Regions from separate parts of the Homo sapiens genome. Here region 2 is linked to region 1. Evidence: promoter capture Hi-C in 16 types of primary human blood cells and fetal thymus (Javierre and others, 2016). All regions are on one chromosome and are shown on one strand. The core of a region is centred on a gene start or on the middle of the fragment in contact, and the rest is flanking DNA. Distances in the headings are between cores, read along the strand shown.

Region 1 (6,960 bases), core at 3,044-5,543:
ACTTTAATGAGACCTCATACGGCTGCTTAGCCCAGAGCCCCAGCTACAGCACGTGCTCAGTAACTTAGGGAAGAGAGAAGGGGACTCAGGAAGGAGTGAGAGGGGCCCAGCAGTGCCTGTGGGTACCTGTTTGCTCAAAGGGAATCTGGGGTTGGGGAGGCAGGCAAAGCTGGGGAGAGAGCATGGGTCTTGGATGTCAGGAAGCCTGAAGCCTGACCTTGACTTGCCAAGTTTCTTCCTGCCCCCAGGCCTTAGTTTCTTCTTTGAAACATGGTGCTCCATCCCTATCTCAAAAGCAAGTTCTCAGATGCCTGTGGTGGGTGAAGATGTGGATGCTGAGGCTGTCTCTGGCCTGCTGTATTCAACATCTCCAACTACCTTTGGAGAAGAGTAAAAGCCTTTGGGAGTGGGGCAGAAGGAGAATGGAGGGGGATGGAGCCTGGAGCAAGAGGAGAAGCCTGGTCCAGTGACTTAAGCTGGGCAGCAAGGTCTCAGCCCTGGACAGCAGAAGATCATCCAGAGGGAGTCCAGCAGGAAGAGGTCTGGCCTGGGTTAGGGGACCTGGCTTCCGGCTCCATCTCCATCACATGCTGGGTAACAGGTCACCAGGCCTCAGTTTCCTTCCTGATATTCACAGTAGGACTGATGCTCCCACACTAGCAACAGCTTCCTCTGTGTTGGCTGGACATTGTGCATGGGGCTGTGCCTTTGTAAGTGATGTGGTAGAGGAGGTTTTGGGGAGAAAATAATCAGGGAGACTTCTCTGTGCTTCTGAACTCTCCCCAGTACAGGCTAGTTTTATGGGATAAAGCATAGCTATGGAGCTCAAGCTGCCATTCCTGATAAGGAGAAAGTGATCTAAGACCCAGGATAGGAGGCACCCAGGTCTCCTGCATGCCAGCCTGGGATGTGGAGAGTGTGTGGCCCCTCCATACCTGAGAAGGGAGCAGCCAGGAGGCAGAGAACCAGGGTAGGGCCACATCAATGGTGCCTGTGGCCGTGCCCAGCAGGTGCAGGTGTTTTCTTCTCCCATGTCAGTGCTGGTCTCTCAGGGGTGGCTGTGACCAGAAGTCACACATGGAGTGATTTTGAAATGGATCCCTGGTTTTACAGCTCCAGAGATGTGAAATGGGTGAATGATGGAGCTACACTCATGTGGCTCTTCAATGGCACAGTGAAAAAAGCAAGCAAGATGGAGCCAGATAGACCTGGGTTCAATGCCAGCAATGATTTAACCTGTGACCTGAGGCAGTAACTTCCCCTCTCTGAGCCTCAGTTTCCTCGAGGATTGGAGGGGCCCAATACTACTCACCACATGGCATTACTTTTAAGACCTAATAGGCTAACAACAAGGACTTTGCACATGGTGGCCCTGAACAAATATTTGTTTTGACCTGGCTTCCTAGCATCCCAGGAGGGGTGACCCTCTCCAATCCCCACCTCCCTAGTGAAGTTTCAAAGGACAGGTTTTTCTGGACGGGAAGGAAGAGTTTCTCTGGGCAGGAGACGGTTAAAAGCTGGGACTACGATTCCAGCCTGGGGCTGCCCCCTCCTGGCCAGCTGTCTGAACCCCTGAATTATAGATGTGCTTGCTCCTGGCCTGGCGAGCAAGAGCTAGTAGGTGCTGGGAGCCAGGCCTAGTCCAGGGTCACCTAAGGGTAGGGCCATTGGGCCAGACGCACCTCCTCACTCCACATGCAGACACACACACCGAGTCCCCTCCCAGTTCTGACTGTGCACCCACATTCACAGATATAACCTGTACACAAAGTCTATGCACAGACCACACATCTCCAAACCCCATCTACACAGCAGACACACACACAGCAAGCACACATCGAAATCACAAAGAAATCATCAGATGACACATACTGAGACATACTTAGACCTCCCCTCCCCATCCAGACACACGCAGGCAGGGTGGGCAGAGGCTCCCAACATAAAGATACAGCCACAGTCATAACTGTCATAATTAACACATATGGAGCACTTACTCTGTGCTAGGTATTGCTCTAAGCCCTTTCCAGAGAACAGTTTATTTAATTATTATGTAATAGAGATAGCTACAATTATTATACCCCCATTTTACAGATGAGGAAACTGAGGGAAGGAGAATTAAAATAAGATGCCTGAGGTCACACAGGTGTCCTGGCACAGCCTCAGGCACAGATACCCACCCCCTCGCTCTTGTCCCCCATTTACATAAACACATTCATTCAAACGCAGCATCCCCCAACCCCTGACCTGCCCGCACACACTCAGGGTGAGCGCTCTTTGGGGGACTGTTGACTAAAGACGCAAGAAATGGCCTATTGGCCAACGGGTGGTAAACTGTAACAAGAGCCGGTCCGGTGGCCCGGCGCGGTGGCTCACGCCTGTAATCCCAGCACTGTGGGAAGCCGAGGTGGGCGGATCACGAGGTCAGGAGTTCGAGACCAGCCTGACAAACATGGTGAAACCCGGTTTCTACTAAAAATACAAAAATTAGCGGGGCGTGGTGGCGCTCGCCTGCAATCTCAGCTACTCAGGAGGCTGAGGCAGGAGAATCGCTTGAACCCGGGAGGCGGAGGTTGCAGTGAGCCGAGATCGCACCATTACACTCCAGCCTGGGCGGCACAGCAAGAGTCTATCTCAAAAAAAAAAAAAAAAAAAAAAAAAAAAAAGCCGGACCGGTGAGAAGACTAGACCTCCTAAAGGTGGAGGCGGAGCTCAAAAGCCGGACGCTACTGGACGAGGCTTAAAGCGCTCGCCCCAGCGCGGGGCCGGTGAGGAACGTTCACCGTGGACCATGGTCGAATAATGTTAGCGTGCACTCGGGGCCTCGCCCTAGCCTTCTGCAAAGCCTCGGCCTGCGCCCTCGGCTGCATCCGTTTCGACGCCAACCAACCTCATGCTCTTAGTAGAACGGCAGTAGCGACCGCGCCCTCAGGCCCACAAGCCCGAAGGTCTGGGCAGGGTCTGGAATGGCGGTGGAGACACTTTATCCGCAGGCGTTTCACCTCGCGCCCCACCCAGGCGCACACCAAGTTCTTGGTACTCCTTTTAATGGGAAAACAAGAACAGACACCATGGTTGGATAAATGTTATTTATAATTCATGGGCCGGTCTTTGAACCCTTTCAAACAAAACCCACAGCGATTTCTTTGAAAGAATGCCTGGACTGTGCTCAGAGCTCTCAGATTTTCTCAGGACCAACGAGCCGCCGCCTCGCAGATACCACTGTAAATTACCCAGCGCCTTACGTTCGTTTCTGATTATTTGCATTGCAGTGGGTTTGTTAATGAAGGACAAGAGTTTAGAAAAATCTTTTATTTTGGAAGTTGGACACGCAATCGACCCCAGCAGTGTTCCTAAAAGGAGCTATGCCATTTGGATGGGGGAAAAATGAGGGGGCGGGGAAGTCCATGTTACATTTAAAACAACAACAGCAACAAATTAAAAGCAAAACAAAACAACAAAAAAAAGGAAGTGGAGCAGGAGGAGGAGGTGGTGGTGGAGGAGAGGGAGGAGGGGCAGCAGCAGCGGCAGCAGCAGCAAGGATGGAGTCAGGACCCGTCCCAGTCCCGGGTGAGCGCTTTTGGATCTGGGTTCTGGCTCAACCCACGTAATGCCCCAATCTAAAGTTTTCTACGTGTGTGTGGATAGGAAAGTCTAAATAGAGTTTATCAGAACCCAGGTGGTCATTCTCTACACTCTCTCTAGCTTGGACCCGAAGAACAAAGGCACATGAGAGGAGAAAGGTGACCAGCTGGACGATGACGGTCACGTCCAAACGGATCCCCCTTGTCCTCGGCTCTCTCGTCCTGAGAGTGGGTTTAATTTTTTTTTTTTTAATTTATATAAGAAGGGAGCTCTTAAAGGAGAGCCATCTCCACCCTCAGGTATCCATCACCCAGCTCCAGCGCGCCTGGGAAAACCGCCCCGAAAGTCCAAGAGGAAGCTCAGAGTTGTAACGGCCGCGGAGCCAGCTCGGCGGTGACGCAAGGTCCAGTCCAGATTGCCAGGCCCGGGGCATGAGAGAGGATCCTTGTAGGTTTCGGAGGTGGGGGGGCTGCACTCCATTGTTCACTCCGGGCCAATCAGGGTTGGCCCACTTCCTCCCAGCCAATCTCCCTTCACCCCCAGCCTCCAACCCAACCCACCCCGCCCATCAGCCCCTGGATCCCCATCACCTCCCCCGCATCCCCGGCAGTTCTGGGGAAGCTTCGTGACGCCACAGGTCCCGCCCCCAGCTCCGGCCCGGGGCTAGTGCGTGTTGACGTCATGCTGCGTGCGGGCCGGTGCGGAATCGCTCCTTCAACTCCGCGGGGCAGTAGGAGTTAGTTAGCAAAGAGCCGAGGCCGGGCGCGCGACCCTCGTCCTTCTGCCCCTGGCCGCACACTTTGCGCACATCTCTTTTTCTGCATGGTGGATATTATTTTTCATTATCCTTTTCTGGGTGCTATGGGTGATCATTCCAAGAGTAAGTATTTCTGTGTGTGTGTGGGGTGGGGTGTGTGTGTATGCTTAATATGCAAAATTTCTAATGCAGAAAAATGTTTAGTGGATTCTACAAGTGGCTTCTATTTGTCAGAATAGTTTAGGAGAGGAAAAACGAATGCATGTCTCCTGCAGGACTGCTTATCTTTGGGAATCCTGTTGTTTTATTTTATAAGTAAACACTATTTCTCAAGCCGGCTAGGATGACTTCGGGCTGCGAAATCTGCTTCTGTTTTGCGCAAAGGCAATTAGGTTTGATTTAGGGATGTGGGTTTTTTTTTTTTTGGTTGTTGTTTGTTTGCCTTTCGGTTTTTCAAAGCTAGGAAGCTTTCTTTCGCTTGCTCTGGGATATTTAAACTAAGAAATGTCTGAGAGGATGAGCGGGGACTGCCGAAAGACGATGTGTCTGTGTTGGGATAGGAGGCAGCCGCTGTGAGTGGGAGTGTGTGAGCGGAAATGCCAGGACAGCACCGTTAGGTGTTGATATCCAGGCGTCCGCAGTGCCTGTGTATTTACTCTCTTCTTAGTTTCGTGTTTGCGTTTAGTTTCAAGACACGTCGACAAAACGACTGTCATTAATGAATGTAATAACGAAATATTTGGGGTGGGGGACAGAAGAAACCTTCAGCAATCCACAAGATACTGGTTTTTCGTTTCCAATGCCCTGGACCTTTAGAGAGCTCATCATCTTTCCTTATGGTCGCAAGTCTTGAAAGAAAGAGCAAGAGAGCGAGCGGGTTGGGTTGGGGCTGGAGTAGCCGAGGCCGGCCTGGGTCCGGGCAGTCAGGCCTGACGCGGCCCCGCGCCCTTCCCCGGCAGAGAAGCCCGGGACGGCCATGTGCGTGGGCTGCGGGAGTCAGATCCACGACCAGTTTATCCTGCGGGTGTCGCCCGACCTCGAGTGGCACGCGGCCTGCCTCAAGTGTGCCGAGTGCAGCCAGTACCTGGACGAGACGTGCACGTGCTTCGTGAGAGACGGGAAGACCTACTGCAAGCGGGACTATGTCAGGTGAGGCCGGCGGGAACGCGGGCTGGGCCACCGCGCGCAGGGGCCGGGGCCGGGACTGGGGATGGCGGCCTGCCCGCGCGCCCCGGCCCTGCCCAGGGAGAAGGCCATCCGCATCCCGCACGGGTGCCGCAGCGCTCCCCCGGGCCCGGGAATGCCCGCAGGCGGGTCACCGCAGTCTCCTGGTGGCCACAAAGTGTCCTGGGCGCGCGCCGGAGCCGTAGCAGCCAGGGAGATGAGGGCGGCCGCAGGCCCAGCGCTGACACCGCCGCACCTTGGGCCCGCAGGCTGTTCGGCATCAAGTGCGCCAAGTGCCAGGTGGGCTTCAGCAGCAGCGACCTGGTGATGAGGGCGCGGGACAGCGTGTACCACATCGAGTGCTTCCGCTGCTCCGTGTGCAGCCGCCAGCTGCTGCCTGGGGACGAGTTCTCGCTGCGGGAGCACGAGCTGCTCTGCCGCGCCGACCACGGCCTCCTGCTCGAGCGCGCCGCGGCCGGCAGCCCGCGCAGCCCCGGCCCGCTTCCCGGCGCCCGCGGCCTGCATCTGCCCGGTAAGCGCGCCGGGGCCTGTGCCGGGGTGAGCGGGGTGTATGTGCGTGCGTGTGTGTAGGGGTACGCTTGTGTCCCTAACGAGAAGTTGTCAGTTGTGTGTGGTTCCGTCTGCCGGGATAGTGTTTTTCTGTATCAGTGCGGAACTGTGTGCTGGGAACAAGGCTGTGTGTATTCTCGTGTGCTCGGGAGAAACTGCGTGTGTATGAGTGTGTGAGCACGGAGAATTGTGCAGAATCGTGTTCTCCATGACCAGGAACATGCAGGGCACAGTGCTAGGAGCAGAAGAGTGGATGACAACAGGGAATCTTAAGTGGTGTCCGTCTTGGGGCTTGTATTAGGAATTTCTTGGAGGAATATGTGTTATTGTCAGAGGGTAAGGTTTGCCCAGGGGTATGTGTGTAAGTAACACAGCTCCAAACTGGGAGCTGGGCAGGAGCTTGGTCAGCCAGGAGCCAAGAACCCAACAAAGAGGGGTTTTTGCCATCTTGTTTTGAGGCCCAGTTTGATGAACAATTTAGCCAGGTTCTTCTGGGGGAGGGGGAGTATCAATGCATAGTGGACTGTCACTGGAATATTCTGGGTCCTAATCAGCAGCTGCCCAGAGATGGGGTCTGAGTGTATAATGGGCAGGTACGGCTGAACAGAAACAGAGGTGCCTCCACCCCAGGCAAGGCAGTTTCCCCCAGGTAGCCATAGGCCTGCAGCACAGATCCGTAGACCAGGCTGGGCCTCTGGGTGCTGTGTGGCCTTGCCCCGCTCCTCCCCTCTCTGGATCTTCACTTCCTCCCTATAGAAAGAGGAAACTGGGCTGGATGGGCTATTTGTAAATATTTGTCCAGACCTAGAAATTCGTAGAGGGGAACATAAACCGAAATGGTGCAGTACAGATCCACGGTATATATGGGTCGGGATCAAATGGAGATG
Region 2 (6,960 bases), core at 1,372-3,871, 2.2 Mb before region 1:
AGAAAATTAATAATCTAGAGCAGACCAGCCTTTTATACATGAGGTCACTGAAGTGCAGAGAGGTGAACTGACTTGTCTCATCTTACACAGCAAGTCACTGGCAGAGCTTGACCTGAAACCCAAAGCCAAGCGTTTTCTATTACCTCCAGGTCCTTCAGGCCAGCCCTCCCAGGGCTCGGCCTTGGGAATTGGTATTGGTGACAAAGGGAATAAAGAGGAACATGCATAGAGCTCTCCATTTAGATTGACATATTCACACTGTGCCAGGGCATCAGCAAGAAACAGTGCAGGCTCCAAGCGCTTGCCCCAACCCCATCCTCTCTCATAACCAACTTCAGCTAAAAGGTCTGAGAAGATAAGGGAATCTTAGGTGACTCTCACTAGGGTGTAAATGACTCCCACCATGATTTTTATCTTATCAAGACATAACTCTAAAAACAGTTTGATGGATACGATGCCAGGCAGTAGGATGAAGACAGATGGGGAAACTGCCTACCTTAGGTCAGGAGTTTGAGAACAGCCTGGCCAACATGGTGAAGCTCCATTTCTACTAAAAGTACAAAAATTAGCCGGGTGTGATGGCGTGTGCCTGTAATCCCAAGCTACTCCAGAGTCTGAGGTGGGAGGATCGCTTGAACCCGGGAGGTGGAGGTTGCAGTGAGTCGAGATTGAACCACTGCAAACCAGCCTGGGCAATAGAGAGAGACTCCATCTCAAAAAAAAAAAAAAAAAAAAGTCAGACCAACCCACGGGGAGGCAGAGGGTAGGTGAGGGGGGTGTGGCTGGGTTTACGGTGGTGCACTCATAGAGTCGGCTTGGGAACAGGGAGCTGTGTGTGTGTGGAAGTTAAAAGATAGGCTTTGGAGGGACCTGGCTTTAAATCCCAGCTTTGCTGTGTGACCTTGGACAACCTGCTTACCCTTTGTGATCTCATATGCAAATGGGGGTGATAATGCATACTTCACAAATTGTGAGGATTGAATGAGACAGCATATAGAAAGTACTAAATTTAGTGATTGGCAACACACTAAAAAATAACTCTATACACCCAGCACCCTAGACCAGAAGGCATTGTGCTGACTCCCAGAATGCACTAGAAAGCAGTCTGCTTCTTCCCTTCCTGCCCTTCCTCTCCTCTCCTCTGTTCTCCTTTCCTCTGTTCTCTCCTTTTTTCTCTCCTCCCCTGCCCACCCTATCCCTCTTCCCTTCCCCTTCCTCTCTCACTCTCCTCTCCCCTGATTCCAGCCCATTTAGTATCTAGGTGACTCTATCCCAAGCTTCTTCTCCTGGTGCCTTTGTCCCCATCTCTCCAAGCCACCTTGATTGTCTCCTCTACCTGACAGGGTCACCCTGCTGGCTGCAGGCTGGAGGGATTTATAGCAATTCCCTCCCTCCTTGCCTGCACGGGGCTACCAGACAGCCGGAAGATATGTGGGTTGGACACAGTGGGGCCCTGGGAGAGGCAAATAAATACATCAAGTTCCCAGCTGAGTCTGGAGATAAGGACGCAGGAAGATGGGGCTGCAGGATTCACAGATGCTGCACTGCACGGGGTCACTCTTCATAGCCTGATTCCTCTGGCTTCCCCAGGAAAGTCTATTTGGGGCACTTTGAAGAGGACACAGAAGAGGACAGCACCTGAGCAATCTTTTCCTGGGAGGCGCTGCACTGAGGCACCCTTCCTCAGCTTGGATTTGGTAGGGACAGGCTTGAGGAGTGAGAATGTGACAGACCCAACCCCAAGATGAGGCAGGAAGGAGGGAAATTGAGCCCCACAGCACAGGAGGGGAAACTGAGGCTGAGAAGGGAGAAAGACTTCCAAAGTCTCACAGGAAGTCAGTGAAGAGAAGTTACAGTCCCCTAACCCCTGATCTACCACTTTAGACCCCCTTACACTGAATTGTGCCTGGCTTCCCCCAGACTTGGCCATTTGAACTGGCCTTGCCTGGGTACAGAATTCCAGGTATCTCTGCAACATGCCAGGATCCACCTCAGGGAGGGTTCTCCTCCCTCCAGATCTCTGCCCCAGCCAGCTGCCTGATGAGATGCCCTCTCTATGGGGCCTGATTTGGGGTCAGCATCCTATTATAGATAACTCAAGGGTACAACATCAGTCTCTCCCACACATGGATGGGATTCTGTTCTAGTGCCCGTGGGCAATGGAGTGGGGGTACGGGGGACTAACGCAGGAGACCTGAAGTGGGGGCGCCTGTCCCATCCACCCCAGAGACAGCTGCCCTTGCCACTGTCGAGGCCACACCTGCCCAAGAGCCTCAAGGGCCTCCTAATCAGCAAGCTCACCCACAGCCACCAGGCTTGGCACGTCCTTGACCCAGACTGCCCAGATAGGCTGGGGACATTTCCCATTCCCAACTGCTCTGTGACCTCTCTTTGGCCTCTGTCTCCCTCCCAGTAAAGTGAAAGGGATAGAGGACCTCCAGGCCCCAAACTCTGATGCTGGGTGACTCTCTGATCCTTGAAGGCTGTCATTGCATCTCCCTAAGGTGGGTGCAGACTTCACAGAGTCTTTCCAGGCTACTAGAGCTGATTGCCTACAGGCAAGGAGAGGGGAAAGTGCTTGGGAGTCCCATCCCCCAGGGGCAGCCCTTGGCCAATGTCTGACTGCTGTGCATCTGTGGAAGTGAGCTTCCCTGCCTCTCATTGGGACAAACAGGATTCATTTTCATTCTGGAGCTTCCTGGGATCAGTCCAACATTGAGACTGTGCCTGAAATCACACCTTTGCTTAGCTTCTTCCTCTTCCTTTCCTACTTCCCCTTCTCTCTTCTGGTTGTTTTTCGCTTGGGCAGTTTTTTAAACAGCCACCTGCACACAAAACATTGTCTCAGCTCTGCTTCTGGGAAGCCACTTTCAAGAGTAAATGAAAACAGTCTATTGAAAGCAAGAGACTGAAGGTCTGAGGGAAAAGTCAGTTTTATTTCAGCCCACCAAGTGCCCTCCCTGTGCTGTTCTGGGCTTTGATGGGGACAGTGGAGGGGAAGGCCCTGCGCAGCCCCCCAACCCCAGGAGCTTTGAGTCTGGGGGATGGAGGAGGAGGAGGAGACTCTGGGCCAGCCCTCCTGCGGTCTGCAGGAGGCCACAGGAGGTGGTGGGGGGTTCTCTGAATGTGTGTTTATTGTGGCCTTTCTGTGTCCTGTGATGGCCCCACGGAATGGAGGACTGAGAGTTGCAGAGCAGGAAGGGGTGGCAGCCTTGTTCTTTCCTGGTCAATGTGCCAGGCTCCCAAAATATTCAGTGATCAGATTTTAACCTCAAATAGCAGTGCCCCAACCGCCCCTGAATCTTGCTATGGAAAGAGCCTTTGGTAAGTGTTTTGAAGCAGGAAGACTCCCTCTGCCCACAGAGCAGTGCACAGCAGTTTGGGGGAGGGGCTAGCTCCTGGGACCCAAGCGGGCCTCAAGAGATGAGGCGGGAGGCGGGTTGCAGTGTGATGGGAGGGGAGACACAGAAATTGCCAAGGGCCATGAGGAAGAGAGGAAGCCACAACCCCAGGCTCCCAAGGAGGGTGTCTTCCTGCAGGAAGCCCTGTCAGATGGCAGCCTGCGGCCCAAAAGCCCCAACTCAACCTGCAAACTGGCTTCTTCTAAGGCCACAGCACCCAAGGGCCTCAAGACACACATCTAGCCCATTCCCCTACCATTGCATGGGTGGAAACCTAGAAGGAGAGAGGGCAAGGAGTTGCTTAAGACCACTTAGAGAGTTTGTGAAGCTGGAGTGAGCTTTCAGGTTGTGGAGCTCCAAGCCCAGTGTGGTCTGCCCCACTTTGCACTGCCCCACATTTTTCCTAAGACCAAGGTAGAATTATTCCTCCTGTTTTCCACCTCAACAGTAAAAGTGCCTCTCTTCTCTGCCATGGGACTGGGAGACATGTTCAGGATGTGAAGTCATATAGGGACATCTTTGAGTTCATAAACATCTCCTGTTCATAAATATCCGACTAAAGACTGAAGCTTCCACTGCTCCCAAAATAGCTTTGGATCCCAGCACAGGCATTTCCAAGAACAGATTTTTATCCTTTCAAGAATTCCGTGAAAGAGCTGGGTGCGATGTGTGCCTCTAGGCACAGCTACTTGGGAGGATGAGGCAGGAGGATCACTTGAGCCCAGGATTTGAGGCCAGCTGGACAATACAGTTTGATCCTCAGCCCAAATAAATAAATAAGTATAAAAATAAATCAATCGATCCAAGAATTCTGTGAAAGCAAAGAATCCTCTGGTTTGTATGCCTACCAGAGTTTCCTGAAGTTGGTCACACACACTGCCCTGACCCTGACTGTGATCTCAGACTGTGGATATAGATTGGTCTAAACTCCAGATAAGGAAGTATCTAGTATGGTCCATTATAATCCTGGTCATTCTCATTTCAATTCATTTTGATACAATATTAGGCTACTCTGAACATGCAATTCCCCAATCCTTCTATTTAAAAGGGATTTCTTGCTTGTAGTGAGCCTTGGGATTGACTCCTCTATAGCCATATCAGGGCCAGATAATTATTCTGAACCAATCAGTTTCATCCCCTTCACCAGTGACTGGTTCAGAGATAAACAGTCCTATGACAATAGGTGTCAAGACCCAGGGGAGAGGCTGTGGCTTCGGAAAAGAGAAGCCTGTCTTTCTAACCCACTAGTCTGTTAACATTACGTTTGTGGCTGGGCACAGTGGCTTACACCTGTAATTTTCAGCACTTTGGGAGGCTGAGGCGGAAGGATCACTTGAGGTCAAGAGTTTGAGACCAGCCTAGCCAACATGGTGAAACCCTGTCTCTACTAAAAATACAAAAACTAGCGGGGTGTGGTGGCACGCACCTGTAATCCAAGCAACTCGGGAGGCCGAGGCAGGAGAATCACTTGAACCCAGGAAGTGGAGGTTGCAGTGAGCCAAAATTGTGCCACCGCACTTCAGCCTGAGTAACAAGAGTGAGACTCCATCTAAAAAGAAAAAAAAACAAAAAACACAATAGGTATGTTTCCTTGGTGGCTCCGGAAGCCCTCCAGTGACACCAAGGCACCAAGGGACCCAGTCCTTGGGCTGGAAGCCCTATTAAGGGTGGCAGAGGGGAGAGATGAAAGAACTTGCAACTGCTGATGTCACTGAGCCGCTGAATCAACAGCCGGGAAGCCAGCCTTGCTTCCTGCTTTGTGAGACGATACACTTAATACTTTCCATCCTTGGGGGTGGGAATCTTGTTATTTGCCGATGGAAATATTACACATCATCCCCAGCCCCCACTCCCCTGCCTCACCCGGCCCTACCCTTTACCATGGCAAGTCCTGCCACGGAGGAGCTGGCTGCCTCAGAAAATCTCTTGGGGAAACCAGTCCTGCCTGAATTGGGGTGGGATTGCCAAGCATTTTGCATCCCGCCCCCCTTACTTGTTTTTTGGTGTTTTTTTGTTTTGTTTTTTGTTTTCGTTTTTGTTTTTGTTTTGAGACAGAGTCTCACTCTGTTGCCCAGGCTGGAGTGCAGTGGTGTGATCATGGCTTATGGCTGCCTCGACCTCCTGGGCTCAAGCGATCCTCTGGTCTCAGTCTCCCTCCAGAGTAGCTGGGACCACAGTTGTGTGCCACCACGCCCAACTAATTTAAAAAAAATGTAGAGATGAGGTCTGACTATGTTGCCCAAGCTGGTCTTAAACTCCTGGGCTCAAATATTCCTTCTATCTTGGCATCCCAAAGTGCTGGGATTACAGGCATGAGCCATCTTGCTCAGCCATGTTCCCCTTTGAATGCAGGAGTATCGCCTCTTCCAGGCAGGAGTTCCTCTTATTCAGTGAGACAAGCACAGACCCAGATAATTACATGAGCTGCCACTGGAAGAGCTGCTGTTAATTTTGATGGCAATAAAAGGCCTTGCCAGTACGTTAAGCTAATTTCATGAAAATGCTGGGAGGAGGGTCATGGGCTGGATCCCAGATTATTAATAATGTCGAGCTTCATTTGAACCATTCAGAAAATTCCTCTCAGTTGCCTCCAGCAAACTGCAACAGGTTGCTACTTTCCTCTGAAATCAACAGTCTTCTCATAGGCAAATGTGGATTTTTTTGTTTTTCCCTAGAAAATAATTAAAGTCACAAAGTCCAATAAATACTTAAACAGAATGTAGTTTTAATTAAAAACCTTCCACCAAGTCTGCAGTTGCGGGTCTCTCTTTGCAAACAGGCATGCTGACAAGCATCAGTCTAAGTATCTGAAACTAGAAACCTTTACAAATAATAATAGTAAATCTGGTTTCTACATATACCCATGGTGTGTGTGTGTGCAAAGGGGGTGGTGGTGGTGAAGAGGTCTGGGGGCAGAGCCAAGGTGCTCCCCTGTGGAGGAGGCAGGACACAAGCCTGTAGGGGTGTGTGCAGCAGAACCTTTTATCAAACTTGTGTCCCACTCTGCAAGGCAATAATAATGGCTAATTCAGCTATTATATAAAAAACGTATCTCAAGTACTGAGCACTAAGTGTCAGGTACTAAGTGCTTTGCGTACATTGATTCATTTAATCCTCAAGGTGACCGAAAAGCATAGGTATTTTTTTTTTTTTTTTTTTTTTTTTGAGACAGAGTCTCGCTCTGTCGCCCAGGCCGGAATGCAGTGGCACTATCTCGGCTCACTGCAACCTCTGCCTCCCGAGATTCTCCTGCCTCAGCCTCCTGAGTAGCTGGGATTACAGGCATGCACCACCACGCCCGGCTAATTTTTGTATTTTTAGCAGAGACGAGGTTTCACCATGTTGGTCAGGCTGGTCTCGAACTCCTGACCTTGTGATCCGCCCGCCTGGGCCTCCCAAAGTGCTGGGATTATTACAGGTGTGAGCCACCGCGCCTGGTCAGTACTCTTATTTATGCCTTTTTTTCTTGAGGCACAGAGAGGTTAAATAGCTTGGCTAAGGACACACAGTCAGTACATAATGGAGTCTGACGCTAGGACCTGCCCGCCTGACGACTACA

The links. The method cuts DNA at HindIII sites, captures the fragments that hold promoters and counts their contacts. A CHiCAGO score of 5 or more calls a contact.
Region 2: a fragment that was not itself captured here is called in contact with the fragment with the promoter of ISL2 in region 1 in 2 of 17 cell types (total B cells and naive B cells); the score reaches 7.4 in total B cells.

Annotation. Positions count from the first base shown.
Region 1 is chr15:76,332,480-76,339,439 of GRCh38, forward strand. It overlaps ISL2 (ISL LIM homeobox 2), which reads left to right and starts at 4,294. Exons shown (of 6, transcript NM_145805.3): 1 at 4,294-4,462; 2 at 5,299-5,488; 3 at 5,773-6,035. The coding sequence starts at 4,405. RefSeq lists enhancers at 4,029-4,323, 4,135-4,634, 4,328-4,377, 4,803-5,614. The HindIII fragment of the contact is 603 bases long and covers 4,202-4,804 here.
Region 2 is chr15:74,119,807-74,126,766 of GRCh38, forward strand. LOC283731 (a long non-coding RNA gene) reads right to left here. Exons shown (of 3, transcript NR_152622.1): 3 at 6,567-6,960. It also overlaps a transcript of ISLR2 not described here. Among named protein-coding and RNA genes, the nearest start is that of ISLR2, 7.3 kb to the right of the region's middle. RefSeq lists enhancers at 2,797-3,403, 3,109-3,158. The HindIII fragment of the contact is 2,693 bases long and covers 1,276-3,968 here.